2 separate regions of the Homo sapiens genome follow, and region 1 is linked to region 2. The links are contacts of gene promoters, found by promoter capture Hi-C in blood cells and fetal thymus (Javierre and others, 2016). All regions are on one chromosome and are shown on one strand. Each heading gives the region's core, a stretch centred on a gene start or on the middle of the fragment in contact. The rest is flanking DNA. Distances are from core to core; before and after follow the strand shown.

Region 1 (2,700 bases), core at 51-2,550, 260 kb after region 2:
TTTTGTATCCTGAGACTTTGCTGAAGTTGCTTATCAGCTTAAGGAGATTTTGGGCTGAGACAATGGGGTTTTCTAGATATACAATCATGTCATCTGCAAACAGGGACAATTTGACTTCCTCTTTTCCTAATTTGAATACCCTTTATTTCCTTCTCCTGCCTAATTGCCCTGGCCAGAACTTCCAACACTATGTTGAATAGGAGTGGTGAGAGAGGGCATCCCTGTCTTGTGCCAGTTTTCAAAGGGAATGCTTCCAGTTTTTGCCCATTCAGTATGATATTGGCTGTGGGTTTGTCATAGATAGCTCTTATTATTTTGAGATACGTCCCATCAATACCTAATTTATTGAGAGTTTTTAGCATGAAGGTTGTTGAATTTTGTCAAAGGCCTTTTCTGCATCTGTTGAGATAATCATGTGGTTTTTGTCTTTGGTTCTGTTTATATGCTAGATTACATTTATTGATTTGCGTATATTGAACCAGCCTTGCATCCCAGGAATGAAGCCCACTTGATCATGGTGGATAAGCTTTTTGATGTGCTGCTGGATTCAGTTTGCCAGTATTTTATTGAGGATTTTTGCATCAATGTTCATCAAGGATATTGGTCTAAAATTCTCTTTTTTGGTGACCACTGCAATTTTTCATAAAAACATGAATTTTATGACTGAAGCAAGATATTCCAGGAAGAGATATACTAAATCAAGGGTGTATCTAACGTATCTGCAACTAATGGGAATCAGCAACTATCTGTACTAAAAAGCTCCCAGCAATACAGGAAGGATATGTTAATTAATGACCAACTGTTAGGCATCAGATGAATTGATCCTACTTTCAGGCCCCTCTTGAGGTCTAGATCCACCAAAAATAAAAAACAAACAAACAAACAAACAAATGTTTAAAGTGCCTGTTTGGAGAGCTGGATTTCTAAAATGGACCCAGAGGATACAGAGCTGGAAGCATGAGAACAGGGAGCCAAAAATAAACAAAAAAACAAAACAAAAAAAAACCCAGGAAGAGGTCCCAGCACACAGGTGCAATTGAGGAAGACTGAACCCTGGCATTAACTCGAATTTTAATTTCGAGTCCCTAGCTTATAGCACAATCATGTTTCTCTTAGAACTTAGGCCAGAGAGTACAAATAATTCTGTATTGACAGAAATCATCATCCCTCCACTTCTCCAACACATATGGTTCATCTAGAACAGGGATTTTTGCATTGCCTTGGACTTGAGAAATTCTCAACTATGATAGCAGAGAAGACATGAATTCCCTAGCCAGGAATGAATGTTAATCTTGACTCAATCCCAGAAACACCTACTCATCACATGAATGCCTTTTTTCAGGTTAAAAATGTGTTCACTGAAGCTGATAATCACTGCTGTCAAAGGCATTCACAGCTGTCACATCACCTTAGATCGGGGCTTCCTTAGATCATTATCACCTCAAATACAGACAGAAGATTCCACTTAGCAGTCACCTCTGCTGGCTCAGGACAAGCCATTTCCCCCATGTGTATATTTTAAGATATTTTCCAGTAGGGAATGGCAGGTACAGTAGTTATCAATGGCTGAAATATATGCTCCACACCCAAAATGATAGCAGTGAAAAAGTATATGGTTGGCCAGCCAGTGGTACCGGCACTGAAATTGCACTGGTGGCACAGAAATGTATTTGAGATTGGTTCTTCCTCACTACCTTTCACCCAGAGGCATAGGAAGATTTTATTAGTTCTTCTGGATCTGGTGAAATTTCCATGACATGCAAATACCTCCTGGCCTTAAGTAATAGCATTTTATTTTAAAAAAAATTGGTGAATAATGTTTTCCTCCAGATGAAGAAAGCCTCTTCAAAACCAACATGCACAGGTATGCTCCTCTAGAATTGACTTTTGAGATTACTTGTCTTTGCAGATTATTTATGCTCAAAAGGCAGAATTTTTAAGTCTCATACTTGCTAGCAAAATAGCAAGGTGTCCATGATGTGAAAACACAGAACATGCCATTGCATGAGACAAGATTTCTCTCTGTGTTGGAATTTATTTCTAATCTGCTTTTTCTTAGATTTTCTCAAGCTTGGATTTAATTTTGTAGAATAACTCATAGAACATGATGTGAATGCAATTTAAAAATACTCAGAGCATTATGATTTCTGTAATCATTCAATCAAATCTGTACAATGTGAGGTTTCAGTCTATTAAACAAAAATGTACTTTTGAATTATACCATCTGGCTAAATTTAAGAGCTTTAAATGTGTTTTCCATAAAAATACAATGTGATAAAAGTTATAATGAAAAGTGTATTAAGTATTAGGAATATAGAAAAGAAAGTAGTCAGGCCTGGGGACACTAGAAAAGCTTCATTAAGATAGTAATATTTTAATTAGTCCTCAATCATTCATTCTACAAATATTTATTGAGAACTTACTATGTGCTAGGAACAATTCTAGACATCAGAGATGCAGAAATTTGTAGACAAAATTCCCTGAACTTACACTTGAGTGTATGAGCAAGTGTATGTGGTAGGGTCAGGAGACAGACAATATATAAGTAAAATATGTAGTGTGTCAGATGGTGGCAAATGCTATAGAGACAACTAAAGCAAGGAAGGAGGACTTGGACTGCAGAGGAAGGGTGTTGTAATTTTAAATGGGGTGACCAGGGTAGACATTCCTGAAAAGATAATCTTTAATCGATGACCTGAG
Region 2 (3,097 bases), core at 203-2,702:
AGATACAAATCTCAAAATAACTTCAAGGTATGAAGTACTATGCACTTGAAAAGTGAGGAAACAGAATCGTAAAATATATGAGTAACTTACTGGAGCCAGTTAAGTGACAAAACTACTGTTTGAATCTAGGTTGTCAGACTCCAGAACTTTTAACTATGCCCCTACAGTAGATAAGAAAAATGACCAAAACTGACAGATTAGCAATGAGGTCATTATACAGGGAAAAATGAATGACTTTGGGGTCTTAAAAAAGTGGAGAGAGCTGCATGAGAATTTGATCGCCAGATTTTGAAATAAAGTCATGTGACTATGCTTGGTACACTAAAGAGGTAATACTGCCTAACAGAGTTAAGGGGGATCATTTGAAGACACTAGCATAGAGTGACACCCCCTCATCCTCCCCACCCCGCCAAAGCCACTAAGAAAGATATAATACCCTGCCTCTCACCTGACAGAAGGTGGTGTTCCTGAGATTCATAATTGAACTGGATCTCCATGGGCTGCAACTGGACACCTCAGTGTGCAAGTGGAGAATTACCATTTCCTCTGTAAGCTTTTCTTGTCCACATAAAGGTCTGGGACCTGGAGGCAACTGGGCACCACTGGGCTTGGAAGGGAATCATTGTGCTGACTACAGATGTAATCTCTGAGACTAGACCACCAGAAAAATCCTCAAGATATAAAAGAAGGAGAAAACAAAAAATCTCATTTGACTTCCAGTTGCTTTTCTCTCAGAATGTATTAGGCTTCCTCCCCATCATCCAAGAGCCAGGGATTAACCCACTTAAGACACACATTCCCCATTCCAAGTCTAGAGATGTTCAAACAAAATTAGGGGTTAATGCTACCAAAAAAAGGTATAACTGGAAAGATAACGCAGAGAGGGGAATTTTACAGTGAATTCTAGTGGTTAACACTATGTTATTCGCTGCCCTTCCTATCCAAAAATGACACTACTGATCATTTTTCTTCCTTTTGCTTTTACAACATTCACAAATTCAGGTGGCTCTTTCCCAGTACGGTAGGCTGATTCGTATGGATGCACCACGGTTGGTGACTCCCCCCACCCCACAGAGTTTCTGGCGTTCATTCGGTTGAACCCAAGGCCAGCAAGGGCTGACTGGGAACAAACCGAACACTAGGCCGTGAACCAATCGTCTCTCCGTGCCCGGGAGCGACCCCGGGGGCCTTCACTCTCCAAGGACTCGAGAAACCATGCACAGTTTCCTGCTCGTTAGGCAAGATCACCCGGAACTCCTCTGCTATCCGCGAGCCGACATCACCCTTACCTCGACTTGGTCACCGGACCGCTGTGAAGCCTCACACCCGGCGAACCTGCCATCGCCCTGTCCGCTCTAGGAATCTGGGAGGAGTGCTCAGCTCTATGGCGCTTCACCGCGCAGGCGCAGGGCGGGGGTGGGGCACCGGGTGACGGAGGGCTGCCGAGAATTAACCCCCGAACCGCCGCGAGCTGTCCCTAGCAGTGCCTTAGCCAGGGACCTGCTTGGCCAGCGACAGATCCTTTGCTGCTCTGTCTGCCGGTTCTTGAGGTGAATGTCGGAATCCATTATCTTTCGGGAAAGCTCTCTGGGGCAGGGTAGGTTTTCTTACTACATACAAGTTCTTAATTAGTTATCGTTTTTTAAATAACCACCCCTCCCCCTATCGCTTATCTGATTCGTAGGTATGCTTTAATTCTAACTTTCTTCCTGTCCTCTCTGGTTTTTCACACCCCCAGAAGAGTAGCGCGCATCAGAATCACCTGGAGGCCTTGTTAAAATACTGACTTCTGCCCCACAACTCCGGAGTTGCTGATTTAGTAGTGGGGGAGGGGGCGGTGGCAGCCCAGGTTCTCAGGTGATCCTGAAGCTGTTGGTCCTGGGACCACATTTTGAGAACCACTGCCCAAGAAATAAGTGATGCTCAGTAATTAATCCCTGAATTAACGGAAAGTTGGATTTTTATCTACTTTGCAATCTAGAAAGGGTACGAGGTCTATTTAAGGTTTGCTTGCTAGAACAATTCTCACTGATCAGGGTGAGAAGGACCCGAAATGGAGGGTGCGGGGTAATCAGGGTAGGAAAGGATATTGCTGTGTTCATGGAAATATCTTGGGAAATGAGGAGTTGGGACCTCATTTCTGTTGAGACCAATGAGACGTGTGACTTGGTTTAAGCTGTCCGGTGGGGAAAGGAAGAGGTTTGAGAAAATGGTGGGTGGCTAAGTGGTAGTTGAGGTGGAGGAAGAGGGCTTCCTGTCCCAGCCCAAGTCCCTGTTGGGATATATGAAATTTAGGGATGTATGACTAAGCCCTTAATATAACCGTAAGAGGAAAGAGATGTGGGAACTTGAGTCCAACCCTCCCAAGTAGGGAGTGCAGATAGTTTTAAAAAAACAGCTTTCTTTTTGGCCAGGCGCAGCTTAGGCCTGTAATCCTAAAACTTTGGGAGGTTGAGGCAGGTGGATCACCTGAGATCAGGAGTTGGAGACCAGCCTGGCCAACAAGGTGAAACCCTGTCTCTACTACAAATACAAAAATTAGCTGGGCATGGTGGTGTGCGCCTTTAATCCCAGCTACTTGGGAGGCCGAGTCAGGAGAATCGCGTGAACCCATGAACCCAGGAGGCGGAGGTTGCAGTGAGCCGAGATTGCGCCACTGCACTCCAGCCTGGGTGACAAAGCGAGACTTTGTCTCAAAACAAAACAAAACAAAACAAAACAAAACAGCTTTATTGAGGTATAACTGACATAAACAGCAAATATTTAAAGGATATAATTTGATAAGGCTTGTTAAATGAATACAGCTGTGGAACTATCACTGCAATCAAAATAATATGTTTATTACATCTAAACCCCAAAAGTTTCCTCCTGCCCGTTGGTAAGCCTCTCTCCCAATGCCCCCTCCACTGGTCAGCTGTTACTAGAGATTAGTTTGCATTTTCTAGATATTTATTTAAATGGAATCATACAGAATGTCCTTGTTTTTGTCAGAGTTGTTTCACTAAGCTTTTATTTTGAGATTTATCTTTATTGCTGTGTGTATCAATAGTTAATTTTTGTTGCTGAATAATATTCCATTGTATGTATATACCACAGT

The links. Contacts are between HindIII fragments. The CHiCAGO score rates a contact against its expected background, and 5 or more counts as called.
Region 1: a contact is called between a fragment that was not itself captured here and the fragment with the promoter of ZSCAN30 in region 2, in 5 of 17 cell types (fetal thymus, non-activated CD4 T cells, naive CD4 T cells and 2 more). The highest score is 9.9, in fetal thymus.

What each region holds. Positions count from the first base shown.
Region 1 is chr18:35,030,980-35,033,679 of GRCh38, reverse strand. It overlaps a transcript of MAPRE2 not described here. Among named protein-coding and RNA genes, the nearest start is that of MAPRE2, 9.1 kb to the left of the region's middle. The HindIII fragment of the contact is 1,544 bases long and covers 529-2,072 here.
Region 2 is chr18:35,288,584-35,291,680 of GRCh38, reverse strand. It overlaps ZSCAN30 (zinc finger and SCAN domain containing 30), which reads left to right and starts at 1,452. Exons shown (of 4, transcript NM_001112734.4): 1 at 1,452-1,597. It also overlaps the pseudogene ZNF271P. RefSeq lists an enhancer at 1,176-1,335. The HindIII fragment of the contact is 2,453 bases long and covers 556-3,008 here.